3 separate regions of the Homo sapiens genome follow, and regions 2 and 3 are each linked to region 1. The links are contacts of gene promoters, found by promoter capture Hi-C in blood cells and fetal thymus (Javierre and others, 2016). All regions are on one chromosome and are shown on one strand. The core of a region is centred on a gene start or on the middle of the fragment in contact, and the rest is flanking DNA. Distances in the headings are between cores, read along the strand shown.

Region 1 (4,759 bases), core at 886-3,385:
TTCAACCTTACCTCCCACAGCATCTCCTTCCCCCTAACTCCAGCCATATCGAATAACTTGGAGTCAAAGAAATACAAATTAAAAAATAATACAGTACCATTTCAAACTATTAAAAAAATTATAGACTGTGAAATGTAAATGGTGCCATTTTTCCTAGTGGACATTTTAATTTTTTTTGTTGTTGTTTGCAGAGGCAAGGTCTCACTATGTTGCCTAGGCTGGTCTTGAACTTCTGAGCTAAAGCAATCCTCCTGCCTCAGCCTCCCAAAGTTCTGGGATGACAGGTGTGAGCCACCACGCCTGGCTCCTGTGGGCATTTAAAATGAAAATTCTTTAAAAATGTGCATACTCTTTGATCCAGCAACTCCAATTTCACTTCTAGGACTATAACTTTAGGAAATAAGAAAAGACATACAGATATGTTCACAGCAACACTGGTTATAAAAGGAAGGAAAACAGGAAACAATTTAAATGTCCAATAATAGGCTATATTATGAAAAAGGTATACCATACAAAACCCAATCACTTTAAAGAATGACATACATTATTTAATGACACGTCATTAAAAACACATCAATGGTGTTATTTGGTAATGATGTGATACATCATTAAAAACACCACATAACCTAGCACTTTGGGAGGCCGAGGCAGGCAGATCACCTGAGGTCGGGAGTTCGAAACCAGCCTGACCAACACGGTGAAATCCCATCTCTACTAAAAATACAAAATTAGCTGGACGTGGTGGCGTGCGCCTGTAATCCCTGGTACTCGGGAGGCTGAGGCAGGAGAATTGCTTGAACCCGGGAGACGGAGGTTGCAGTGAGCCGAGATAGTGCCATTGCACTCCAGCCTGGGCAACAAAAGCAAAACTCCGTCTCGAACAAAAACACAAACAAACCAAACACCAGATATGTGGTGGGCACTAATCTCACAAGCCTTGAAAGTAGGTAGATTATCCAACTTTTACATGAAGAGGCTGAAACAAATTCAACTTGCCCAAGGTCATACAATTATTAAGTGGTGAAACCAGGATTCAAAAGGAGGCCATCTGCTGGGTGCAGTGGCCCATGCCTTTGTAATCTCAACATTTTGGGAGGCCAAGGCAGGAGAATCACTTGAACCCAAGAGTTTGAGAGCAGCCTGAGCAACATAGCGAAACCCTGTCAAAACAAAACAAAACAAAACAAAACAAGACTGGGGCGTGGTGGCGCGCCCTGTGGTCCTAGCTCCTCGGAACGCTCAGGTTGGAAGGAACGCTCAGGTGGGAAGATCGCTTGAGCCGGGGAAGTCGAGGCTGCAGTGAGCCGTGATAGCGCCACTGCACTACAGCCTCGGCAACGGAGTGAAACCCTGTCTCAAAAAACAAACCCAAAACAAACAACAACAAACGCAGGCTAACTGAATACCGAGCCCATGTCCCCTTCCATGCCCACAATGCTGCCTTGCCTTTGTGCAGAATGTGGTTAGAACTGTTTACCTCGCAAGGTTACTGTGCAAGTGAAATGAAATAAACACATGACACAGTGGACATTCAATACTCAGAAACTACTAAGTAACTCGCTCAAGGTCAAGCTAGGATTTAAACCCAGGATTTGAATCTTTTGTTCCAGGGAGCGCGTAGGAGGTTAAGAAGCTTTTCTTGGCTTCCTTTTTTTTTTTTTTGAGACAGAGTTTCGCTCTTGCTGCCCAGGCTGGCGTGCAATCGCTCGGTCTCAGTTCACTGCAACCTCCGGCTCCCGGATCCAAGCGATTCTCCTGCCTCAGCCTCCTAAGTAGCTGGGATTACAGGCGCCCGCCACTAAGCCCGGCTAATATTTTGTATTTTTAGTAGAGACGGGGTTTCACCATGTTAGCCAGGCTGGTCTCGAACTCCTGACTTCAGGTGATCCGCCCACCAATTCTTAACGCTGAGTCAGTATGGGCTTTCCTTCAGCCCCATAAAGTGCACCTCAGAGGTCAGGGAACACATAACAAGGACATTCAAAAGGGGAGCGCGCGGAAGTGGCTTTAGGAAGCACTAAGTCTTGCCTGGTTTTTTTTCCTCCCTGCTTTTCTAAATCCAAACCCGGACTCCTCAACCCACAGCACCACCAATTTCCAGGGCGGAAATGACGTCGTATTCACGCGCCGGAAGTGCATTTGCAGAGTGAGACAAAGCGGAGAACGCTGGTGGGCCTGTTGTGGAGTACGCTTTGGACTGAGAAGCATCGAGGCTATAGGACGCAGCTGTTGCCATGACGGCCCAGGGGGGCCTGGTGGCTAACCGAGGCCGGCGCTTCAAGTGGGCCATTGAGCTAAGCGGGCCTGGAGGAGGCAGCAGGTGAGGCACCTGGGCAAGCTGTACATCACTGTTCATCCCAGAACTGCACCAGAGTAATGAGACCTGAGCCCTCAGGCATAACTCTGAAAAAGATGGGTGGCACACAGACATCACCTGGGGAGGTAGCGGCTTTTCTGCCGTGGAAGTTTCTCTGCTCAAACAATGCTTACATCAGTCCTCCTGATAAGTCAAAGGACTGAGGAACATACGAGGGGGCTTGGTCTAATCTGAGTAGGTGCATCTGAAGATCTTTATTCCTATGATTGGTAGATCAGGAAATGTGGGATAAGAAGTATCGGAGGTTGCAGCTTTAGTTTCTTGGTTTGGTTTTTTAGGGGTCGAAGTGACCGGGGCAGTGGCCAGGGAGACTCGCTCTACCCAGTCGGTTACTTGGACAAGCAAGTGCCTGATACCAGCGTGCAAGAGACAGACCGGATCCTGGTGGAGAAGGTACAGAGGTATAGATGTTACCGTAGCCCATGGGCCAGTCCTGAGTTACACACTCATCCTCTTCTCCTAGGTGGAGTTAACGTAGATAGCTCTTATCCTGAAGATTTGGAAACTAAACTGCTTGAGGCTGGTATTTCGGTATTTTATATATCAGCTACAAAAGTGCTTAATAATTTGAAAAATAGAAGATGTTTGGAACATAAGGTATAAGAAAGTAGGTTGAAAACTATCTTTTGGTGGCAACATCTTCCAGTTGAAGTGATCCTTTTTCTACTCTGGTTCCCTTACACCACATATCCAACTGTCAGGATACTCTGTTGGCTTTACCTACTACTTTTTCCTGTGTTCACCTCTCATCCTAATCCAAGCCACCATCCTTCATCTAGATTTCTGCAGTAGCCCGGCTAATTTTTGTATTTTTAGTACAGACAGGGTATCACCATGTTTGCCAGGCTGGTCTTGAACTCCTGACCTCAGGTGATCCATCCGCCTTGGCCTTCCAAAGTGCTGGGATTGCAGGCATGAGCCACCGCGCTCGGCCCGGGGCTATTTATATTTCTAATTTCTCCTGTCATTTTGTTACATTTTTTCTAGAAACTTATCCATTTCCTAAAATTTCAAATGTATTGATATAAAGTTGTTCATAATATGATCACTTCCATATATGCAAGATCTGTGATGTTCATTTTTTCATTCCTGATATTGAATATTTTGTCTCCTCTCCTTTCTTCATCAGGCTCACCAGTATTGATTTTTTAAAAATTATTTTCATTTATTTTTACAGGTCACTGTACCCATCACCAGTATTGATTTTATTAATCTTTTCAAAAATACTTGGGTTTTTTTCTAGTTTCTTGAAATGGATGCTTAGTTTATTTTTAGACTGCCATTACTTTTTTTCTTTTCTTTTGAGACAGTCTTGCTGTTGTCGCCGAGGCTGGAATGCAATAGCACGACCTTGGCTCACTGCAACCTCTGCCTCCCAGGGTCAAGCAATTCTCCTGCCTCAGCCTCCCGAGTAGCTGGGATTATAGGCACCCACCACCACGTCCAGCTAATTTTTTTGTATTTTTAGTAGAGACGGGGTTTCACCACGTTGGCCAGGCTGGTCTGAAACTCCTGACCTCAGGTGATCCACCAAGCTCGGCCTCCCAAAGTGCTGGGATTACAGGTGTGAGGCACCGCGCCCGGCCACATTGCCATTACTTTTAATGGCAACAACCGCAGTTACTTTTGCAGCAACCTGGTAGTATGTATTTAAGGTTATAAATTTCTCAGAACTCTAGCTGTGTCCCACGAGTTTTAAAATGTGGTACTTTTGCTATCATATAAATCTATTTTCCATTATAATTTCTTCATGTATCATTGTTAATTCCCAAACATAAGAGATTTTCTAGTTACTATAAAATTATTTCTAGTTTAATATCATTGTAGTCAAAGAATATGTTTTGTACAATTTGCATTCTTTGAGATTGACATTTTCTTCATGGCTCAGCGAGTGGTCAGTTTTTGTGAATATCTTGTTTGAAAAGAATGTGAATTCTGCAATTGTTGAGTGCAGTGTTACATGTCAGTTGGGTTAAGTTTGTTAATGTCATTCAAATCTTCTATGTCTTGATTTGCCTGCTAATTCTATTATTTCTGGAACTAAATTAGTTCGATGGTTCTATTAGTTATTGACTGAGGTGTGCTAATCTCCCATTATGTGGATTTATCTATTTCTTCAGTTGTAGATAGGACATTGATAGATACATAAGTACCAGGACAAAAGCAGGGAGATCTTTTTTCCAAAATCAGGAGAAAAAAATGACATCTGGAAAACCTATAGGGAAAGGCATAACAGATGGTAAGGATACTTTATCTTGAGTAGGAGAGCCTTCCTGTGGCAACGTGGAGAAGGGAAGAGGTCGTAGAATTGAGGAGTCAGCTCAGTTAGAAGCAGGGAGTTGGGAATTCCGTTCATGTGATTTAGCATCAGTGATATGGCAA
Region 2 (4,759 bases), core at 636-3,135, 180 kb before region 1:
GATAACCACTTATATTTCATTTGCCTCTGCAACTTTCCTCAAAAATAAGTTACCCTTTCAAAAACATAATCAATGATTTAAGAAGTTTATTGTGGAAAACATTCAGGCTGGAAACTCAGTTTTCATACTCAACTATCATCCAAAAAAATAAATCAATCCATCAGCCGTGGAACCTACCTTATGTTCCAAATCTTTTTGTGGAAAGATCTGTCCAGCAGCCTAGGAATCAGGAAAAGTTATTCTCCCAAAAAGTGAGGCAGGAAAAAAAAAAAAAACGGGAAAAAGAGAAGGCAGAAAATCTCTAAAGGCTAATTATATTAATTTCGAACAGGAGAAAAAAATTTTTTTAACTCAAGTGATTTTGGAAGGCAGAGGGGGATTCAAATGTTACTGCACATTGCAGTTGGAAAATTCCAATTTAACAGCCCCTTTGTGAACGATCATTCCCCTTTTCTAGGAACCTAGGAAATCATTCTCAGCCTTGCAACTTAAAATATGGTACATGGATCAGTAGCATCAAGAATACTCAGGAGCTTTTCAGAAATGTGCAATTGTGAAATATGGCCAAGATGGCGGATTAGAAGCAGCGGCAGCCCGCAGCTCTCATGCAAAGGAATGAAAGGTGTGAGTGAATACAGCGCCTTCAACTGAAATATCCAGGTTCTCGCTTTGGGACTAATTGGGCAAACAACTTGACCCACAGAAAACAAAGAAAAGCAGGGTGGGGTGACGGCCCACCTGGGAGCAGCACAGAGCCAAAGGAACCCCCACCTCCAGCCAAGGGAAGCGGTGAGTGATTGTGCGACCCCACCGGGGAAACCACATTTCTCCCACAGGTCTTTGCAACCCATGGAAAAGGAGATCTCCTTGTGAGCCCATGCCAGCAGAGCCTTAGGTCCAACACACAGAGCTGTGCGGAGTTTCAGCAGAGCAGCCGCTCAGGCACAAACAGAGACCTAGCAGGGCTTTTTTGTTTTGGTTTTTTTGTTGGTTTTTTTTTTTTTCTTTTTTTGGAGACGGAGTCTCGTTCTGTCGCCCAGGCTGGAGTGCAGTGACACGATCTCGGCTCACTGCAAGCTCCGCCTCCCGGGTTCACGCCATTCTCCTGCCTCAGCCTCCCGAGTAGCTGGGACTACAGGCGCCCGCCACCATGCCCTGCTAACTTTTTGTATTTTTAGTAGAGACGGGGTTTCACCGTGTTAGCCAGAATGGTCTGGATCTCCTGACCTGATGATCCGCCCGTGTCAGCCTCCCAAAGTGCTGGGATTACAGGCGTGAGCCACCGTGCCCGGCGGAGACCTAGCAGTTTTACATACTCCAACGCTGGGATCCCTGGCAAGGCGGGAGGTCCATCTGCACATACCCCTAGGAAGAGGGCTGAAACCAGGGAGCCAAGCAGCATCTTTCTGCAGGCCCCACTTCCCTGGCACCTCACAAGATAAGACCCACTGACTTGGAATTCCAGCCAGCCAACAGTAAAAGCCAGAGTCTGCCTGAGAGAGAATTGAGCTCCCAGCGGGAGGATGACTGTTACCTCTGTGGTTCAGTTGACTCAGCCATTCTAGCTTGCGGCTTTGGAGAATCGAAACAGTCCAGACAAGGAAAGGTCCCTCCCAACGCAAGCACAGCTGCTTTGTCAGTTGGTGGCCAGACTGCTTGTTTTGTCTTTGTTTTGTTTTGTTTTTGGAGATAGTCTCACTTTGTCACCCAGGCTGGAGTGCAATGGCGCAATCTCGGCTTACTGCAACCTCTGCCTCCTGAGCTCAAGTAATCCTCCCACCTCAGCCTCCCGCACCCTGTTTCCCAGGATGAGGGGCTCTCCACACCAGATCCCAGAAATAAGAAATCAAAGGGTGCACGGGAGAAGGGATGGGGTCAAACAATAGGACCAAGTGAGTGGAGTAGCTGGGACTACAGGCACACATCACCACGTCCAGCTCGTGTGTGTGTGTGTTTGTGTGTGTGTGTGTTTGGTAGATATGGGAGTTTCACCCTGTTGCCCAGGCTGGTCTGAAACTCCTGAACTCAAGCAATCCACTTGCCTCGGCTTTCCAAAGTGCTGGGATTACAGGCGTAAGCCACCACACCCGGCCAGACTGCTTCTTTAAGCAGGACCCGGATCCATTCCTCCTCACTGGGTGGGATCTCCCTGTGGGAGCTTCAACCACTCCAGCCAGGGTTATATGGATAGAGCTCTGATCTTTCCCTGGGATGGAGCTCCCAGAGGGAGGGGCAGCCGCCATCTGTGTGGTTTGGTTGACTCAGCTGTTCCAGCCTGCTGGCTTTGGAGAGTCCAAATGGTCCTGACAAGGAAGGGTCCCCCACAACGAGCACAGCTGCTTTGCCAGATCATGGCCAGGCTGCTTCTTTAAGTGGGACCTGGATCCATTCCTCCTCACTGGGCAGGACCTCCATGTGGGGGTTTCAGCCACTCTAGCCAGGGTTATACAGACAGAGCTCTGATTTCTCCCTGGGATGGAGCTCCCAGGAGGAGGGGCAGCCGCCATCTCTACAGTTTGGTTGACTCAGCCATTCCAGCCTGCTGGCTTTGGAGAGTCCAAACAGTCTGGACAAGGAACAGTGCCCCCACAATGCAGCACACCTGCTCTACCAAAAAGCAGCCAGACTGCTTCTTTAAGTGGGTCCCTGATCCCATTCCTCCTGACTGACACCTCCCAAAAGGAGTCTGTGGCCTAGGTGTGTCTGGGCCAGCAACAGGTCAGTATCCTCCTGGGATGGAGCCTCCAAAGGAAGGAGCAGTCTGCCACCTTTGCTGTTTTGCATACCTGGTGGTATGTTTTGCAGCATACCACCAGGTATGAGAACAACCGAGGTGACTAGGGTCTGGAGTGGACCCACGGCAAACTGCAGCAGCCCTGTGGAAGAGTTGTCTGACTGTTAAAAGAAAAACAAACAAACAGAAAACAACAACATCAACAGAAAAGACCCCACAAAAACCTATTTCAAGGTCAGCAACCTCAAAGCTCAAAGGTAGATAAGCCCACAAAGATGAGACAGATTCAACACAAAAATGCTGAAAACTCAAAAAGACAGAGTGCGTCTCTGCCTCCAAATGACTGCACACCTCTCCAGCAAAGGCACAGAACTGGGCTGAAGCTGAGATGGCTGAATTGACAGAACTAGGCTTCTGAAAGTGGGTAATAACAAACTTCACTGAGCTAAAGGACCATGTTGTAACCCAATGCAAGGGAGCTATGAATCATGAGAAAACAATGCAGGAGCTGACAGCCAGAGTAGCCAGTTTAGAGAGGAACATAACAGACCTAATGGTGCTGAAAAACACACTATGAGAACTTTACAATGCAATCACAAGTATCAAGAGCAGAATAGACCAGTGGAAAAAAGAATCGCAGAGTTTGAAGACTATTTTTCTGAAATAAGACAGGCATACAAGAATGGAGAAAAAAAGAATGAAAAGGATCATGGGATTATGTAAAGCAAAACCCATGACTGATTGGGGTACCTGAAAGAGACAGGGAGAATGGAACCGAGTTGGAAAACATACTTCAGGATATCAGTCAGGAGAATTTCCCCAACCTAGCAAGTCAGGCCAACGTTCAAATTGAAAAAATGCAGAGAACCCCAGTAAGATACTCCACAAGAAGATCAACCCCAAGACACACAATCATCAGATTCTCCAACGTTGAAATGAAAGAAAAAATATTAAGGGCAGCCAGAGAGAAGGGCCAGTTCACCTACAAAAGGAAGCCCATGAGACTAACAGCAGGCCTCTTGGTGGAAATCCTACAAGCCAGAAGAGACTGGGGCCAATAATCAACATCAACTTTTTTTTTTTTTTTTTGAGACAGGATCTCACTCCATCACCTAGGCTGGAGTGCAGTGGCACAATCTCAGCTCACTGCAACCTCTGCCTCCTGGATTCAAGCCATTCTCTCATCTCAGCCTCCCGAGTAGCTGGGACTACAGGCACCTGCCACCATGCCTGGCTAATTTTTGTATTTTTAGTAGAGATGGGGTTTCACCTTGTTGGTCAGGCTGGTCTTGAACTCCTGACCTCAGGTGATCCACCCACCTCGGCCTCCCAAAGTGCTGGGATTACAGGCGTGAGCCCCCATGCCTGGCCTCAACATTCTAAAAGAAAAGAATGTCCAGACCAGAATTTCAGATCCAGCCCAACTAAGCTTTATAAGTAAAGGAGAAATAAGATCCTTTGCAGACAAGCAAATGCTGAGGGAATTTGTCACCATTGGGCCTGCCTTGCAAGAGCTCCTGAAGCTTCCATATTAAGCACTAAATATGGAAAGAAAACCCGTTACCGGACACTACAAAAACACACTGAAGTACACAGACCAGTGACATTATGAAGCAACCACATAAAAATGTCTGCAAAATAACCAGCTAGCATCATGATGACAGGATCAAATTCACACATAACCATACTAACCTTAAACGTAAATAGGCTAAATGCCCCAATTAAAAGACACAGAATGACAAGCTGGATAAAGTGCCAAGACCCATCAGTATGCTGTCTTCAAGAGACTCATCTCATGTGTGAAGACACACATAGGCTCAAAATAAAGGAATGGAGAAAAATTTACCAAACAAATGGAAAACAGAAAAAAGTAGGGGTTGCCATCCTAGTTTCTGACAAAACAGACTTTAAACCAATAAGATCAAAAAAGAGAAAGAAGGGCATTACATAATGGTAAAGGGTTCAATTCAACAAGAAGAGCTAACTATCCTAAATGTATATGCACCCAATACAGGAGCACCCAGA
Region 3 (4,759 bases), core at 665-3,164, 150 kb before region 1:
GGGATTACAATTTGGATTACTATTCAAAATGAGATTTGGGTGGGGACACAGAGCCAGACCATATCATTCACTATCTTTTTATATCCAAGAATCACCAGCTAGGCAATCTAATTACTCCTTTGTTTGGTTACTTATTTGTTCAGCAAATAGTTATTGATCTATTTGGAAAGCTTGGGGATGTGGAAGGGAATAAGACACTGTCTCTGCCCTCTAGGAACATAGACTAACAGAATGATGGATGGAACAACTACAGTAACTACAAAGAAAATTGTCCCAGTGGTGGCTGAAGGACATGCTCCTCCCCAAGAACAAGCGTTTTGCTTCTCCAGGCCTCTTATTCCCTGCTCTTTGGCACAGAAGGAAAATTAGCACTGAAGCCTAAACATATAGGCTTGAAGAGGAAGGATGACTGAGGAATGACAAGATGAATGCGGATAACATCCAACATTCCACTCACAGGATCTCACAAGCACAGGCCTCTGATCTTTTTTTTTTTTTTTCAGTTTGGTTCCCAGTTCCTGGACTACATGCCAAGGTACTGTGTTTTTCAGAAAGAAGACTTGCCCTGTCTAGATATACCCTAAATTTCTTATTCCATAATCCAACTTCTTCTCAAGGGAGGAGCAGAGATCAGGTAGAAATACAAAGAAATTAGAGTTTTCCATAGAATTCTCCAAATTTTCAAAATCAAATGCATACAATCACACACATTAGAGCACAACTTAAAGCAGTGAGTACAGAGTCTCAAGGTGGGAGCAGCTGGTTCACAGTAGGAGTGCTGAGGGCCTACCAGGAATGAGGAGACCTCTGAGAGGCTTTGAAAAAGACCGGAAACCTTCCTTCCAACCAATTCCCACCAGCTCCAAAGAGGATGAAGGGAGAGAAACCGTCTTTATGCCACTGGCCTCTGCTGGGCTACATCATTTAAAGATTTGAGGTTGGGCCAGAGGTAGGCAGAGAACAAGGCAGGAGGGAAGACAATGCTTATTTTTCCTCCAACTAACATATTCTCTCAAAGTTTCTGGGACTCTGAGATTTCTACTAAAGATTCTAGGCTTTCTTGGCAATGATTTTCATATACCACAGTTTGCTCAGAGACCTGTTATCAGTACATCATGGCCAGGTGATCACAGCCAGTCACAGCCAGCTTCAGGTCTCCATAAGAGGGAGTCCCTCCAGAATTGTGTGATTTGCCTGTGGCAATCACATCTATTTTAGGTGCATTAGGGGGAACTATGTGAAGGACGCTTCTAGTGAATCCTTTAGTAAAGTGAATAATTACTTCTAGGCTTCAACTAGAAGTGATTGGAAGTGATAGAAGTCATTGGAAGGAGCCTTATGACTTCACCACTTTACTTATTATTAATGGTCATTAGCCACAGTCACCACCATGTTACTCACAAGATTCAAACCCAAGCTGGCCTGGCTCCCAATCTGTGATCAGTTCTACCTCATTGTCTCAAGCACACTGAACACCATACACAGGGCTTTCCCTTATCATTTTTCCAGAGAGAATCAGGGTATTGTCCTCCAGAAGATAAGGCGAGTTCAGGCCTGCAATGCAACCAGGCGATGTCTGCCTACCTTTTTCGCCTCTCTTCTCTCCAGCTGTACTGTTCTTTCAGTTCCTTCAAGAGCCAAGCTCCAGGCCCACCCCTCCTTCAGCTCAGACTAGGAAGCACCTCATTCTTATCCCGCTCTTCTCAGTCTCAGCCTGGTTAATTCCTAGTCTTTCAGTCTTACCTATGAGTCACTTTTTAATGGAAGTGCTCTTACATTTGCCCTCTACCCACCCATTCGGGTTCCCCATTTATGAGCTTATAAATGACTTTTTCTTGGTAGCATCTACCAAAGTTTTCATTAGATACCTGTGTGTGTTTGGTTGATTCAATGTCTGTGTCTCCCTCTAAATGCTCATCTCTGAAGCCAGAGTTCATGCTTATTGTGCTCATGATCATATCCCCTCACCTAGTAGCCCTTGGCACATACGTGGCAACAGTACTTCACAATGTATTCTGTACTAAGTAAGTATGTGCTTACCTGCGATAGGAGATGGTTACAAGGCAAGGTTCCTGGTTTTTGTTTTTTCCTGTATTCTTAGTATCTTTATGATTCCCTGAAAAGTACAAACTTAATTCACCATGGGTCTCTGATCTCTATCCTTGTCTAACGATTTGAGTTAGGATCCCAACAATATGATAGAGCTGTATGTATGGCAGCCATCCCAGAACTATTTTAGAGGAGAGATTAATATTCTTCCTACCCTTCCTTGAGGACAGGACTGTTGTACTACTAGTGCTTTACAGTCCAAGGAGCTTAGGGTCCAGGTAGGGAAGTCAGAGAAGTAGACAAGTAATCTCAGAAAATGAAGTGCTATATATATAATAGGATAAGCCAGGCATGAAGGGGGACAAGGAGGCTCTTATCTGATCCTCATGAGCATCTGGAAGATTTCTGTAGAAAGTCCTAAAAAAGATGTTACAGGTTGATAAGGGAAAAAAATAGGCATGGGGTGGAGAGCTGAGATGAAGAGATACTCAAAAAGGCTCAGAGGTGAGAGAGCATGGAGTTTTCAGAGGGGAATTGTGAATAATTTGAGATACATAGGGAAGTGGCAAGAAGTGAGTCTGAAGGAACTGTGTTCAGGGGCCAAAGATGTTTGTCTTGAAGTCCATGAGAGTCAACACAGGGTTTAATTGATGAGTGATCCCATCAGATTTGCCTTTTAGAAACATCTTTAAGATTAGTGTCTAAAGCTCCAGTTACCAGAAACTAGGACTACAACTACTTTCTCTTGGAAGTCAATTTCTCTTGACTACACCACTGCTTTCTCTCTAAGGAGAGTTTGGAAGGAGAGAGGCAAGTCCCTAGATCATGCCAATAGAGGTAGGAGGAGGGTGGACAGGTTGGAAGAGATGTATACCATGTGTTGACTATGGGTATATTAATGTTTTTCAGTTTAGCATGTGAGAGCAGTACTACAGAAAGCAGTTAACAGTTTTCTCTAGATTAAGACCACTTACCCACTGATGAGTTTGGGAAATTGTTTAACCTGTTTCCTCATCTGAAAAATAAGAATATTAATAATTATAAACTCATCGAGAACTTATATGCCTTATCTCACTTATGTGTGGAATCTAAAAAAGCCAAACTCATGGAAGCAGAGAATGAAATGGTGGGTTGAGGGGTAGGAGAAATGGGAAGATACTGGCCAAAGGGTACAAACTCAATTATAAGATGAACAAGTTTCAGGGATCTTAACTACATCATGAGTGATGGTGGATGTATTAATTAATTTGATTGTGGTAGTCATAATACAATGTATATCAAATAATCACATTTTATACTCTGAATATAGTCAATCTTTATAAATTATTTTTAAATATTTTTAAAAGGGAATGAAATAAATTTACATTCATATATATGAAAAATTTGATTTCAAAATTATCTAAGAGGTACAAATATGAATCAATAGATTATTAAATTTCAGTGGAATTAAACGCCTTGTCAACAGTTTTCTGTTGGAAATGCTGCGTATAGCTAGTTTTTACAGTTCCACTCATTCCTCCAGTTTAATGTTTGACCTTAATTTACTCCTTCCTCTTCTCAGGGTTGCTTGCCTGGCTGGCTCAGTCCTACCAGACAGAAGCCACTGTGGAAAGCTTCAGTTCCCCTAGTGCTCATAATAAGATCGTTTTACCATAAACTAAAGAGATAAGCTAATATTTGGAGCTATTTTGGGGGCATTTTAAAATTTTCAATACTTCATCTTTTACCAAGAGTATAAAAACAATATCCACAATTTATAGACACCATTTGAATTTTACCGAAGCTACTTTCAAGTTCTCCTGAATAACATAAACATTTAAACCAAATGGATATTCTCACCAGCCTTATAAATTTAAGACTCTAAATAATGAAAATAATCACACCTAAAATGCGGAAGAGCTCAGTACAACTGGTCCCATCTCAACATACTCTTTGAGCTGAATTAAAAGACTCAGTCACTAGCTTCTGTTGGGTTACCTGAAATTGGTGCTTAGCAGAATTTTTGCTGGGTTTAAATACAAAATGTACATACATGATTGTAACCATGCAAATGTATGTCTATATGTGACCCGAAAGGCAATAAGCAAAAATGAAAATAGTGGTTTAAAATATTTAATAAAAATATTTTCAGTAACAGTTTTTAAACAAAAGATACTCTAGTTGAGCACTTAAAAAAAAAAGAAACAAGCCAGGTGTGGTGGCTCACACCTGTAATCCCAGCACTTTGGGAGGCTGAAGTGGATGGATCACGAGGTCAGGAGATCGAGACCGTCCTAGCTAACACAGTGAAACCCCATCTCTACTAAAAATACAAACAATTAGCCAGGCATAGTGGCGGGCACCTGTAGTCCCAGCTACTTGGGAGGCTGAGGCAGGAGAACGGCATGAACCCGGGAGGTGGAGGTTGCAGTGAGCTGAGATCGCGCCATTGTACTCCAGCCTGGGCAACAGAGTGAGACTGTCTCAAAAAAAAAGAAACAAAAAACACTCAAAACTTCCTGAAAGTCTGAGTGACTAGTTAAATGAAAAGCTCTCCCTTATCTTTATGGACACTGCTTATCAGGACCTTCAAACCCTTCCAACTACTGAGAAGTATGCTGTGTGATAGTATCTGCCCTCCTGTCAGGGAAGGCATAAGGGAAAAATGACAAGATGGTTTTCTACTCAGGGCAGTTTAGGTAAAATCCTGTATCTTTTCAAAATGTTAACC

The links. The method cuts DNA at HindIII sites, captures the fragments that hold promoters and counts their contacts. A CHiCAGO score of 5 or more calls a contact.
Region 2: a contact is called between a fragment that was not itself captured here and the fragment with the promoter of EMC4 in region 1, in 2 of 17 cell types (activated CD4 T cells and neutrophils). The highest score is 6.1, in activated CD4 T cells.
Region 3: a fragment that was not itself captured here is called in contact with the fragment with the promoter of EMC4 in region 1 in 1 of 17 cell types (neutrophils); the score reaches 5.9 in neutrophils.

What each region holds. Positions count from the first base shown.
Region 1 is chr15:34,222,881-34,227,639 of GRCh38, forward strand. EMC4 (ER membrane protein complex subunit 4) reads left to right here and starts at 2,136. Exons shown (of 5, transcript NM_016454.4): 1 at 2,136-2,320; 2 at 2,656-2,770. The coding sequence starts at 2,235. RefSeq lists an enhancer at 2,450-2,499. The HindIII fragment of the contact is 12,421 bases long and covers 1,632-4,759 here.
Region 2 is chr15:34,046,083-34,050,841 of GRCh38, forward strand. It overlaps CHRM5 (cholinergic receptor muscarinic 5), which reads left to right. Exons shown (of 3, transcript NM_012125.4): 2 at 458-789. It also overlaps a transcript of AVEN not described here. Among named protein-coding and RNA genes, the nearest start is that of AVEN, 9.3 kb to the left of the region's middle. The HindIII fragment of the contact is 4,552 bases long and covers 1-4,161 here.
Region 3 is chr15:34,075,485-34,080,243 of GRCh38, forward strand. No RefSeq gene overlaps it. Among named protein-coding and RNA genes, the nearest start is that of EMC7, 24 kb to the right of the region's middle. The HindIII fragment of the contact is 3,492 bases long and covers 169-3,660 here.